Linked DNA regions of Homo sapiens: regions 1 and 3 are each linked to region 2. The links are contacts of gene promoters, found by promoter capture Hi-C in human tissues and cell types (Jung and others, 2019). All regions are on one chromosome and are shown on one strand. The core of a region is centred on a gene start or on the middle of the fragment in contact, and the rest is flanking DNA. Distances in the headings are between cores, read along the strand shown. Region 1 overlaps PLAAT5 (phospholipase A and acyltransferase 5). Region 2 holds the start of SLC22A24 (solute carrier family 22 member 24). Region 3 has its middle 59 kb from the start of SLC22A9.

Region 1 (4,392 bases), core at 1,783-4,282, 340 kb before region 2:
AGCAAGCAGCTGAGGTAGGTGTAACAAGAATTCTCAAAGTGACTATCTTTAACCTCCTGGCAACTTCTCTACATATTGTATTTTACTTTGTTTCTAGGGGTGTCCAATCTTTAGGCTTCCCTGGGCCACACTGGAAGAAGAAACGTCTTGGGCCACACATAAAATACACTAACACTGACGATAGCTGTTGAGCTTAAAAAAAAAAAAAACCCACAAAAAAGTCTCATAATGTTTTAATAAAGTTTACAAATTTGTGTTGGGCCACATTCAAAGCTGTCCTGGGCTGTATGTGGCCTGTGGGCTGCGGGTTGGACAAACTTGGTTTAGATGGTCTAATAAATATCCTGATTTGGGATGTTGGTTATGCTTTGTTTTAAAGCAGTTTTATTGAGGTGTAATTGACATATAGTAAACTCCACATATCTAAAATATACAATTTGATAAATTTGGCATATATATATGCCAGTGAAGTGTATAGTTTGATACATTTTGACATCTATATATATATCCTGTCAAATCTTCACCACAATCAAGATAATGAATAATCTCTGTCATTTACAAAAGTTTCTTTGTGCCTTTTGTAATCCCTCTCTCTTCCCATACCACTCCCATCCCCAGGCAACAACTGATATGCTTTTTGTCACCATAGATGTGTTCACATTTTTAGAGATTTATATGAAATCATATTGTATGTGCACTTCTTTGTCTGTCTCCTTCATATAACTATATATATTTTTTTCGAGATGGAGTCTCGCTCTGTCGCCCAGGCTGGAGTGCAGTGGCGTGATCTTGGCTCACTGCAAGCTCTGCCTCTTGGGCTCACGCCATTCTCCTGCCTCAGCCTCCCGAGTAGCTGGGACTAGAGGCACCTGCCACCATGCCCGGCTAATTTTTTGTATTTTTGGTAGAGACGGGGTTTCACTGTGTTAGCCAGGATGGTCTCGATCTCCCGACCTCATGATCCTCCCGCCTCGGCTTCCCAAAGTGTTGGGATTACAGGCATGAGCCACTGCAGCCAGCCCATATAACTATTTTGACTGACATCCATGTTGTTGCTTTTTATCAACAGTTCATTCCTTTTTATTACTGAGCAGTATTTCATTGTATGGATATACCACTCTTGTTTATGTGTTCACCTGTTGATTGAGCATTTGAGTTGTTACTAGTTTTTGACTATCACAAATCTGCTTGAACATTTATGTACGAGTCTTTGTGCAGACTGTATATTTTTTCCTCTTGGGTGAATATGTAGGAATGAAATGGCTAGGTCATGTGGTAGATGTATATTTAATTTACTGTTTTCCTTAACATTTTTTTTTTCTTTTTTGGGGCTTTCCAAGCCTGCCAGACAAATTCTAAAAGAGCTCTAACCTTAACTTACTGTTTTCCACAGTGGTTGTATCATTTTACATTCCTACCAGCAGTTTATAAGAGTTCCAGTTCATCAGCATTTGGCATGGTCAAAATCTTCTAAATTTTAGCTATTTTAATAGATGTGTAGGTATCTCATTGTGGTTTTCATTTGCATTTTCCTAATGACTAATAATGTTGAACGTCTTTTCATGCGTATATTTGCCATCCATATATATAATCTTTGGTGAAGTGTTCAAATCTTTTGCCCATTTTTTCCTATTGGTTTGTATGTTTTGAGAGTTCTTCAGAAGTTCTGTATACAAGTACGTCATCAGATATATACTTTATAATATTTTCTCTCCATCTGTGGCTTGTCTCTTCAGAACAGGTTCTTAAATTTTGATGAAGTCCAATGTGTCAGCTTTTCCTTTTATAAAACGGAAATGTAATGAAATACTGCTCAGTAATAAAAAGGAATGAACTGTTGATAAAAAGCAACAACACGGATGTCACTCAAAATAGTTATATGAAGGAGACCGCCAAAGAAGTGGACATACAACATGATTTCATATAAATCTCTATGAATAGTGCCTTTGGTGGTGTATCTAAGAGACCTTTGCCTAATCCAGTGTCACAAAGATTTTCTCCTGTTTTCTTCTAGGTATTTTATAGTTTTGTTTTTTACATTTACATATTTGATACATTTTTATCTGTATTTTTATTTCAATAGTTTTGGGGGAACAGGTGGTGTTTGGTTGCATGCAAAAGTTCCTTCGTGGTGATTTCTGAGATTTTAGTGCATCCATCACCTGAGCAGTGTACACTATACTCAATGTGTAGTCTTTTATCCCTCACCCCACTCCCACCCTTCCCTTCTGAGTCCCTAAAGTTGATTACATCATTCTTATGCCTTTGTGCCCTCATAGCTAGCCCCCACTTATAAGTGAGAGCATATGATTTTTTTGTTTTCCATTCCTGAGTTACTTCACTTAGAATAATGGTCTCCAGCTCTATCCAGGTTGCTGTGAATGTCATTGTTTCATTCCTTTTTACGGCTGAGTAGTATTCCGTGGTGTGTGTGTATGTGTGTGTGTGTGCATATATATATATACCACATTTTCTTTGTCCACTCATTGGTTGATGGTCATTTAGGCTGGTTCCATATTTTTGCAGTTGTGAATTGTGCTGCTATAAACATGCATGTGCAAGTGCCTTTTTCATACAATGACTTCTTTTCCTCTGGTTAGATACCCAGTAGTGGGATTGCTGGATCAAATTGTTGTGCTACTTCTAGTTCTTTAAGGAGTCTCCATGGTGTTTTCCATAGTGATTGTATCAGTTTACATCCCCACCAGCAGTGTAAAAGTGTTCCCTTTTCACCACATCTATGCCAACACATATTATTTTTTTTATTTTTAAGTTATGGCCATTTTGGAGGAGTAAGGTGGTATTATTGCATCGTGGTTTTGATTTGCATTTCTCTGATAATTAGTGACGTTGAGCAGTTTTTTAATATGTTTGTTGGCCATTTGTATATCTTCTTTTGAGAATTGCCTGTTCATGTCCTTTGCCCACTTTTTGATGGGATTGTTTTTTTCCTTGCTGATTTATTTGCTTGATTTCCTTGCAGATTTTGGATATTAGTCCTTTGTTGAATGCATAGTTTGTACAAATTCTCTCCCACTCTGTGGGTTGTCCGTTTACTCTGCTTATTGTTTCTTTTGCTGTGCAGAAGCTTTTTGGTTTAATTAGGTCCCATCTATTTATCTTTGTTTATGTTGCATTTGCTTTTGGGTTCTTGATCATGAACTCTTTTCCTAAGCCAATGTCTAGAAGGGTTTTTCTGATGTTATCTTCTAGAATTTTTATGGTTTCATATCTTAGATTTAAATCTTTGATGCATCTTGAGTTGATTTTTGTAGAAGGTGAGAGTTGAGGATCCAGCTTTATTCTTCTACATGTGGCTTGCCAATTATCCCAGCATTTTTTGTTGAATAGGATGTCCTTTTCTACTTTATGTTTTTGTTTGCTTTGTTGAAGACAGTTGGCTGTATTTTGTTTTATTTCTGGGTTCCCTATTCTGTTACATTGGTCTACATGCCTGTTTTTATACCAGTACCATGCTGTTTTGGTAACTATAGCCTTGCAGTATAGTTCAAAGTCAGGTAATGTGATGCCTCAAGATTTGTTCTTTTTGCTTAGTCTTGCTTTGGCTATGTGGGCTCTTTTTTGGTTCCATACTAATTTTAGGATTGTTTCATTCTAGTTCTGTGAATAGGTATTTTGATGGGAATTACACTAAATTTGTAGATTGCTTTTGGCAGTATGATCATTTTCACAATATTGATTCTACCCATCCATGAGCATGAGATGTGTTTCCATTTGTTTGTGTCATCTGTGATTTCTTTCAGCAGTGTTTTGTTTTCCTTGTAGAGATCTTTCATGTCTTTGGTTAGGTATATTCCTAAGTATTTTTTTTTTTTTACAGCTGTTTTAGAAGGGGTTGAGTTCTTGATTTGATTCTCAGCTTGGTCATTGTTGGTGTACAGCAGGGCTACTGATTTGTGTACAATAATTTTGTATCCTGAAACTTTGCTAAATTGATTTACCAGTTCTAGGACTTTTTGGATTAGGCTTTAGGGTTTTCCAGGTCTATGATCATATCAGCAAACAGCAACAGTTTGACTTCCTTTTTACTGATTTGGATGCCCTTTATTTCTTTCTCTTGTCTGATTGCTCTGGCTAGGACTTCTAGCACTATGTCGAATAAATGTGGTGAAAGTGGGCATCCTCGTCTTTTTCCAGTTATCTGGGGGAATGCTTTCAACTTTTCCCCAATCACTATAATGTTGGCTGTGGGTTTGTCGTAGATGGCTTTTATTGCCTTGAGGTTTGTCCCTTTTATGCTGATTTTGTTGAGGTTTTTAATCATAAAGGGATGCTGGATCTTGTCAAATGCTATTTCTGTGTCTATTGAGATAATCATGTGATTTTTGTTTTTAATTCTGTTTATGTGATATATCACATTTATTGACTTGC
Region 2 (4,514 bases), core at 1,780-4,279:
TCTCATGCTGACATTACAGTACCTGGGCTTCTTTTGTCCAAATGATTGTAGAATCTGTGAAACAGAAGAAGCCTGGGTGCCATGAGGGTGGAATGAGAATTTTACAGGTGGGTGTTTGTATCATCACCCATAGTTTCCTAATTGCCACCAGTCTAATCTTCCACTGTGTACCCAACACTGGACTCCCTGCCAGACTTTTTAAGCTTTATACAGTGTTCACATCTTACTATCCCAGTCAACTTAATAGGGCATATTACAACACTTGTCCATGTTACATTTTCCCTGTAAACCAAGGAGGGTAATACCCATCTCACGGGGTTGTTGTGAGGAATAAATAACATGCACAGAAATCACCCAGCCCAGTGTCTGGCACATAGGAAATGACAATATATTGCTAGTGATCATTATTGTCCTTACTAATGCTTTTTTCTCTGCATGCTTCTTTACTTACTCATTACTCTAGAGATACATCACTATTTTGACCTATGGAACATTCCTTCTTATTCCTTTTTGTGTCTATACTTGGTCACCATGATACTTACTAATTTCCTCTCCTTTAAATTTTCTGTGTTTCATGGGAGATTTGGGGGATGGGGCACAATGGTTTCAGCCTCTCCTCTTCCAGCCATCTTGACTCTAGATAGGCCATCGTTGTTTCTGAGCATAAAAACAATCATTTAATTTATGAGATGAAAATAAGTCATTTACTGATGAGTTAATGGGTGCAGCGCACCAGCATGGCACATGTATACATATGTAACTAACCTGCACGTTGTGCACATGTACCCTAAAACTTAAAGTATAATAATAATAAAATAAAAGAAAAGAAAAAGAAAATAAGTCATTTATTAAAGTGAGTAAGAGATTTTCCTTTAGACTACCATGGTCCATATTTTGGCTCTACCACTTACACTCTGTATATCCTTTGGCAAGTTATTTAATGTGTCTAGTCCTTTGTTTTCTCAGGGGTAAAATGTAGATAACAAGGGTGAGAACTAAAATAAGGAAAACATTAAAAGTGCTTACAACAGAATCGACTTATAGCGAATACTCAGTGAATTCACAGCTGTAATCATTCTTTACATCATTTTATTCTTGTGGTTCTGAATGGTTTGCCTTGCTGGAACGTTCACTTCTTACTATTTTTACACTGTGTCAGTAACTTTAGTAAAATATAATTGTGATTGTCTAACCCCATTATGGGGTGAATTGTGTCTCCCACTCCCAAAATTCCTATGTCAAAGTCCCAACCCCTAATACCTCAAAATACAACCATATTTGGGGATAGGTTAAAATGAGACCCATAGGGTGGGGCCCTGATCCAATATGACTAGTGTCCTTATAAGAAGAGGAAGGAACACCAGGTGTGCACATGCATAAATGAAAGAATATGTGAGGACATGACGAGAAGGCAGCTATTGACAAACCAAAGAGAGAGGCTCAGAGGAAATCAAATCTGTTGACACCTTGATCTTAGACTTTCAGCCTTCAGAACTGTGAGAAAATAAACTTCTGTAAAGTCACCTTCTGTTAAGTCTGTGGTATTTTGTTATGCAGCCCTAGTGAACTAAAACATTTCTAACAATTTACAACAAAACCCTGTGATGTATTAGATTTCCTGTTTGGAATAGATCCATGAAAGTCATTTCCTGAACAGAGAATCTCTGCAGGCTGGACAGGAATCTGCTTTTTTTTTTTTTTTTTTTTTTTTTTTTTTTTTTTTTTGAGACAGAGTCTTGCTGTGTCACCCAGGCTGGAGTGCAGTGGCACAATCTCAGCTCACTGCAACCTTCACTCCCAGGTTCAAGTGGCTCTCCTGCCTCAGCCTCCTGAGTAGCTGGGATTATGGGTGTGAGCCACTGCACCCATCCAGGAATCTGCATCTTAAGATGTTTCACGGGTGACCAGTTTGAAATTCAAAAATAAGAACTTCTTGTAGGCAGAATAAATTCTGGAGATTCTGTTTGTTTCTTTGGGTTTCTTTTTAATCAACCTGTCTTTTCCCATTATATCCGTGCATGCTATTTAGCTGCTAGCTTTTGAATATCCTTGTAGGTACACAATTATGCCACACCTTTAACTGTAATTGTGTACTTATTATTCCCTCATTTAAAAATTGACTCTTGCAGTCCCTCATCCACTGCTTCATTATCTCAAGAATCTTCCCACAAGAGTAGGTCAAGCTGGCTGGGCATGGTGGCTCATGCCTGTAATCCCAGCACTTTCAGAGGCTGAGGTGGGCAGATCACATGAGGTCAGGAGTTTGAGGCCAGCCTGGCCAATATGATGAAACCCCTTCTCCATAAAAAATACAAAAATTAGCTGGGCATGTGGGTGAATGCCTGTAATCCCAGCTACTTGGGAGGCTGAGACATGAGAATTGATTGAACCCAGGAGGTCAAGGCTGCAGAGAGCCAAGATCCCACCGCTGCACTCCAGCCTGGTGACAGAGTGATACTTTGTCTCAAAAAAAAAAAGAGTAGGTAAAGTTAATTTGTAGAGGGATGACTCCCCTGCTCCATGGCATCTATCCAGGTATCATTAAACAGTTTCTCCTTAATCTTCCATAGCACACTGTGTATCTTCCTTATAGTTATATGATGACATTACAGTACAATTATTTACAAACCTATCATTTATATGAGACATTGAGCTCAAATTTTATTTTAAACTTATAAATAAATATATGTAAGTTAACATTGCTTTATTTACAGCAATAGCACCAGAAAGCCCAAAATGATATTTGAATGAATCAATAAATCTGGTGAAATATACTACTATAATACATAAAAGCACTATTTCCTTTCTCTTTGTTTCTTATCCTAATTTCCCTATTTTAAAAAATCTTTAAAGCCCTGTCATTGGTATGACTTGAACTGAAGCAGAACTACACTTAGCAAAAGTCAATGTTTAAACTCAACATTCCACTTTCCTTTAACTAAGAATAGTTTTTATTAACTTTTAGTAAAACTCAGTCCTAGTCCAAAAAAAGCCCTGCTCTCTGATCTTTGTACAAGAACATCATAAAGCAATTCACTTTGGATTTTCTAATATCCCATTTCTAAGAAGAATGGCAGACTATTGAACAGGTGTATTTTAGGTCACGTGGGGACTGCATCCACCTGAAAATCCACCGTTGACTTATCAGGAAACTCAGAGATCAGGATCTTTCACAGAGTAGTCTTTTAAGAAGATTCAGTTGTCAACAGCTAGCAGTCTCTTTGCCAAATAATTATATCTGTGACTTCTGAAACTATTTGGCTGCCTAAAGTTAAAGGACTTGGGGAAAGTCCTTCCACTGCTCTTCTGCAGTAGTGTCACACCACTCAGTGCAGGGCCCACCAAGAAGAAAGCAGTGTCAGGATCCACATGGCACTATGGTAACTTTGTGAAAGGGGACATTTTCTCCCTCTGAACTTCTCTTCATAAAGTCATTGTGCTTCCTCTTGGGGATCACCTGTTCAGTCTCAATGGGCTTTGATGTGCTCCTGGATCAAGTGGGTGGCATGGGGAGATTCCAGATTTGTCTGATAGCTTTCTTTTGCATCACCAACATCCTACTGTTCCCTAATATTGTGTTGGAGAACTTCACTGCATTCACCCCTAGTCATCGCTGCTGGGTCCCCCTCCTGGACAATGACACTGTGTCTGACAATGATACCGGGACCCTCAGCAAGGATGACCTCCTGAGAATCTCCATCCCACTGGACTCAAACCTGAGGCCACAGAAGTGTCAGCGCTTTATCCATCCCCAGTGGCAGCTCCTTCACCTGAACGGGACCTTCCCCAACACAAATGAGCCAGACACGGAGCCCTGTGTGGATGGCTGGGTGTACGACAGAAGCTCTTTCCTCTCCACCATCGTGACTGAGGTAAGAGGCCCCATGTAAATCTTCTGTTTATATGATTAAAGTGTTTGGAGTTAACACAAAAAAATTGACTTGCTTTATACCTTTAGTCCTTAGATGGGACCTGCAGTCAGCTCATTCTTCATTCCTTTAGCAGGTGGCAGCACCTGATTATCTATTAATACTCTACGATACAGCCAAGTGTATTAGTATTATATTGGTGTAAAAGTAAATTGTGGTATTAGACCATGAATTTTAAATCATTATAACTAGGCTCAAACACATCTTTATTAATCAAAATAGGAACCATTACAATCAACACATTTTTGGCAATGAGAAATAAGTTTGTTAATTCTGTAACATAAATATCCACGCTTTGGGATTTGACAAATTTTTCTGCATTCTGCTGGTTGTGAAAGTGTTTCTCCTACAAAATGTTGTTGAGATACTTAGTTTTGGTTGTTTTTGTTTTTTGCTTTTTGTTTTTTGAGGGAGGCCAGAGTTTTATTACTACTCAAATTAGTCTCCCTGAGCATTCGGGGAGCAGAGTTTTTAAGGATAACTTGGTGGTTGGGGGGCAGCCAGTGAGCCAAGAGTGCTGACTGATCAGGGCTGAAATCATAGGGAGTCAAAGCTGCCTTCTTGTGCTGAGTCACTTCCTAAGTG
Region 3 (4,903 bases), core at 1,537-4,036, 280 kb before region 2:
AGAAGGTTGATCATCTGAAGCTTTCTTCTCTCAACTTGTCAAAGTCACTCTCCATCCAGCTTTGTTCTGTTGCTGGCAAGGAGCTGCCTTCCTTTGGAGGGGGAGAGGTGCTCTGATTTTTAGAGTTTCCAGTTTTTCTGCTCTGTCTTTTCCCCATCTTTGTGGCTTTATCTACTTTTGGTCTTTGATGATGGTGACATACAGATGGGGTTTTGGTGTGGATGTCCTTTCTGTTTGTTTTCCTTCTAACAGTCAGAACCCTCAGCTGCAGGTCTGTTGGAGTTTGCTGGAGGTCCACTCCAGACCCTGTTTGCCAGGGAGTGCCTCCCAATTAGGCTACTTGGGGGTCAGGGACCCACTTGAGGAGGCAGTCTGTCCATTCTCAGATCTCAAACTCCATGCTGGGAAAATCAGTACTGTCTTCAAAGCTGTCAGACAGGGACATTTAAATATGCAGAGGTTTCTGCTTCCTTTTGTTCAGCTATGCCCTGCCCCCAGAGGTGGAGTCTACAGAGGCAGTCAGGTCTTCTTGAGCTGTGGTGGGCTCCACCCAGTTTGAGATTCTTGGCCGCTTTGTTTACCTACTCAAGCCTCAGCAATGGCAGTCACCCCTCCCCCCAGCCTCACTGCCACCTTGTAGTTAGATCTCAGACTGCTGTGCTAGTAATGAGTGAGGCTCTGTGGGCATGGGACCCTCTGAGCCAGGCACGAGATATATTTTCCTGGTGTGCTGTTTGCTAAGACCATTGGAAAAGTGCACTATTAGGGTGGTAGTGACCCAATTTTCCAGGTGCTGTCTGTCATGGCTTCCCTTGGCTAGGAAAGTGAGTTCCCTTACCCCTTGCACTTCCCAGGGGAGGTGATGCCTCACCCTGCCTTGGCTCTTGCTTGGTGGGCTGCACCCACTGTCCTGCACCCACTGTCTGACACACCCCAGTGAGATGAACCTGGTACCTCAGTTGGAAATACAGAAATCACCTGTCTTCTGCGTCACTCATGCTGGGAGCTGTAGACTGGAGCTGTTCCTATTCGGCCATCTTGGAACCACTATGTGGTCGATTTTAGAATAAGTGCTATGTGGTGCTGAGAAGAATGTATATTCTGTTTATTTGAGGTGGAGAGTTCTGTAGATGTTTATTAGGCCCACCTGGTTCAGAGCTGAGTTCAAGTGCTGAATATCCTTGTTAATTTTCTGTCTCATTGGTCTGTCTAATATTGACAGTGGGGTATTAAAGTCTCCCACTATTATTGTGTGGGAGTCTAAGTCTCTTTGTAGGTCTCTAAGAACTTGCTTTATGAATCTGCGTGCTCCTGTATTATAAAGTCTGTTTTATCAGAGACTAGGATTGTAAACTCTGTTTTTTTTTCTTTCCATTTGCTTGGTAAATATTTCTCCATCCCTTTATTTTGAGCATAAGTGTGTCTTTGCACTTGAGATGGGTCTCCTGAATACAGCACACTGATGAGTCTTGACTCTTCATCCAGTTTGCCCATCTGTGCCTATTAATTGGGGCATTTAGCCCACTTACCTTTAATGCTAATATTGTTATGTGTGAATTTGATCCTGTCATTATGGTGCTAGCAGGTTATTTTCCCCATTAGTTGATGCGGTTTCTTCATAGTGTCGATGGTCTTTACATTTTGGTTTGTTTTTGCAGTGGCTGGTACCACTTTTTCCTTTCCATATTTAGTGCTTCCTTCAGGAGCTCTTTAAGGCACACCTGATGGTGACAAAATCCCTCAGCACTTGCTTGTTTGTAAAGGATTTTATTTCTCCTTCACTTATGAAGCTTAGTTGGCTGGATATGAAATTCTGGGTTAAAAATTTTTTCTTTAATAATGTTGAATATTAGCCCCCACTCTCTTCTGGCTTGTAGGGTTTCTGCTGAGAGATCTGCTGTTAGTCTGATGGGCTTCCCTTTGTGGGTAACCTGACTTTTCTCTCTGGCTGCCCTTAACATTTTTTCCTTCATTTCAACCTTGGTGAATATGATGATTATGTTTCTTGGGGTTGCTCTTCTCCAGGAGTATCTTTGTGGTGTTCTCTCTATTTCCTGAAGTTGAATGTTGGCCTGCCTTGCTACGTTGGGGAAGTTCTCCTGGATAATGTCCTGAAGAGTGTTTTCTAACTTGGTTCCATTCTCCCATCACTTTCAGGTACACCAATCAAACATAGATTTGGTCTTCATATAGTCTCATGTTTATTGGAGGCTTTATTTGTTTCTTTTCACCCTTGTTTCTCTAGTCTTGTCTTCTCACTTTATTTCATTAATTTGATCTTCAATCACTGATATCCTTACTTCCACTTGATCTAATCGGCTATTGAAGCTTGTGTATGCTTCATGAAGGTCTCATACTGTGGTTCTCAGCTCCATCAGGCCATTTAAGCTCTTCTCCTTACTGGTATTCTAGTTAGCCATTCGTCTAACCTTTTTTCAAAGTTTAGTTTCCTTGCAATGGGTTAGAACATGCTCCTTTAGCTCAGAGAAGTTTGTTATTACCGACCTTCTGATGACTACTTTTGTCAATTTGTCAAACTCATTCTCCATCCAGTTTTATTCCCTTGCTGTTGAGGAGTTGTGTTCCTTTGGAGGAGAAGAGGTATTTTGGTTTTGGAATTTTCAGCCTTTCTGCTCTGGTTTCTCCCCATTTTTGTGGTTTTTGTCTACGTTTGGTCTTTGATGTTGGTGACCTATGGATGGGGTTTTGTTGTGGATGTCCTTTTTGTTGATGTTGATGCTATTCCTTTCTGTTTGTTAGTTTTCCTTCTAACAGTCAGGCCCCTCATCTGCAGGTCTGTTGGAGTTTGCTGGAGGTCCACTCCAGACCCTGGAGTATTACCAGGTTTGCCTGGGTATTTCCAGTGGAGGTTGCAGAACAGCAAATATTGCTGCCTGATCCTTTCTCTGGAAGCTTTGTCCCAGAGGGACACCTGCCTGTATGAGGTGTCTGTCGGCCCCTACTGTGAGGTGTCTCCCCATCAGGAATCATGGGGTCATGGACCCACTTGAGGAGGCAGTCTGTCCATTATCAGAGCTTGAACTCTGTGCTGTGAGAACCACTGCTCTTTTCAGAGCTGTTAGGCAGGGAGGTTTAAGTCTGCAGAAGCTGTCTCCTGCCTTTTGTTCAGATATGCCCTGCCCCTAGAGGTGGAATCTAGAGAGGCAGTAGGCCTTGCTGAGCTGTGGTGGGCTCCGCCCAGTTTGAAGTTCCCTGTTGCTTTGTTTAGACTGTGGGCATAGAACTGCCTACTCAAGCCTCAGTAGTAGTGGATGCCCCTCCCCCTGCCAAGCTCCAACATCCCAGGTTGATCTCAGACTGCTGCATTAGCAGCGAGCAAGGCTCCATGGGTGTGGGACCTGTCTAGTCAGGCTTGGGAGGGAATCTCCTGGTCTGCTGGTTGTGATGACCCTGGGAAAAGTGCAGTATTTGGGCAGGAGTGTACCATTCCTCCAGGTACAGTCACTCCCAGCTTTCCTTGGCTAGGAAAGGGAAATCCCCCAACCCCTTGCACTTCCTGGGTGAGGTGATGCCCTGCCCTGCTTTGGCTCACCCTCCATGGGCTGCACCCACTGTCCAACCAGTCCCAATGAGATGAACCAGGTACCTCAGTTGGAAATGCAGAAATCACCCATCTTCTGCATCGATCTCACTGGGAGCTGTAGACTGGAGCTGTTCCTATTAGGCCATCTTGGAAGTGACCTATCTCAAACTTTTAACCGTTTCTTTCCAGAAGAAAAATTTGAAACATTAAGGGAAAACAGTTGGGTAAAATATCCATTTGCTTTTCAAAACCCTGAATCAATAATTGAGCTAAACTTGGTGCCTGAAGAAGAGAATGAATTATTGCAGTTTAGTTCTTCATATACATTAAAGAATGATTATGAGACCTTAAGCTTATCAGCATTTTGGAATAAGGTAAAGGAAGACTTTCCATTGTTAAATAGAAAGAGTGTCCTGCTATTACTACCATTCACAACAACTAGTTTGTGTGAACTAGGGTTTTCTATCTTAACCCAGTTAAAAACAAAGGAAAGAAATGGCTGAATGGTGTAGCAGCTATGCAGGTAGCATTATCTTCCTATGTTCCAGACTGGAATGAACTTAGGAACAGGCAAGCACACCCATCATAATAAATAAAATCTTACCTAAAAAAAGATGTACAAATGGCTAATAGGTATATGAAAATCTGCTCAACATCACCTATTACAAGGGAAGTGCAAATCACTTGAATGGGAGAAAATATTTGCAAAGTGCTCATCCAAAGGGGACTAATATGTATTCTATACAAGAATAACAATTCAACTATAGAAAACCAAACAATCCCACTAAAAATGAACAATATTTTTCAAAAGAAGACTTACAAAAGACCAATAGTATATGAAAAATGCTCAACACTAATTATCAGGGATTGTAAATAAAAACCACAATGAGATATTATCTCACCACAGAATGTTTATTATTGACAGATGCACACACTCACACAGACACACACACACCCAGATGCTGGTGAGGTTGCAGAGAAAAGGGTACTCTTAGACATGGTGGGAATGTAAATTAGTGCAACCATTATGGAAAGCAGTATAGATATTTCTCAGAAAAACTAAATCTAGAACTACTACATGATGCAGCAATCTCACTACAGGGTATCTATCCAAAAGAAAAGAAATTATTTTCTCAAAGGGATACATTTGACTCACAGGTTTATCACAATGCTATTCCCAATAGAACAGATATGGAATCAACCTAAGTGTTCATCAATGGCTGATTGGACAAGAAAAATGGTGTGTGTGTGTGAGTGTGTGTGTGCACATGCATGCATGTACATGTATGTGTTTATATGTACTATTTGTTTTCTGGATACACACCTACACCCACACCCATAGGTACCCATACCTGCACA

The links. The method cuts DNA at HindIII sites, captures the fragments that hold promoters and counts their contacts. A contact is called where the count stands out against the background at its distance.
Region 1: a contact is called between a fragment that was not itself captured here and the fragment with the promoter of SLC22A24 in region 2, in 1 of the 25 tissues and cell types used here (mesendoderm cells).
Region 3: a fragment that was not itself captured here is called in contact with the fragment with the promoter of SLC22A24 in region 2 in 4 of the 25 tissues and cell types used here (H1 embryonic stem cells, hippocampus, liver and 1 more).

Annotation. Positions count from the first base shown.
Region 1 is chr11:63,484,493-63,488,884 of GRCh38, reverse strand. It overlaps PLAAT5 (phospholipase A and acyltransferase 5), which reads left to right. Exons shown (of 6, transcript NM_001146729.2): 3 at 1-14. It also overlaps the pseudogene LOC124902822. Among named protein-coding and RNA genes, the nearest start is that of PLAAT5, 4.5 kb to the left of the region's middle. The HindIII fragment of the contact is 8,832 bases long and covers 1-4,392 here.
Region 2 is chr11:63,142,736-63,147,249 of GRCh38, reverse strand. It overlaps SLC22A24 (solute carrier family 22 member 24), which reads left to right and starts at 3,029. Exons shown (of 10, transcript NM_001136506.2): 1 at 3,029-3,872. The coding sequence starts at 3,471. The HindIII fragment of the contact is 8,571 bases long and covers 1-4,514 here.
Region 3 is chr11:63,426,586-63,431,488 of GRCh38, reverse strand. No RefSeq gene overlaps it. Among named protein-coding and RNA genes, the nearest start is that of SLC22A9, 59 kb to the right of the region's middle. The HindIII fragment of the contact is 3,761 bases long and covers 906-4,666 here.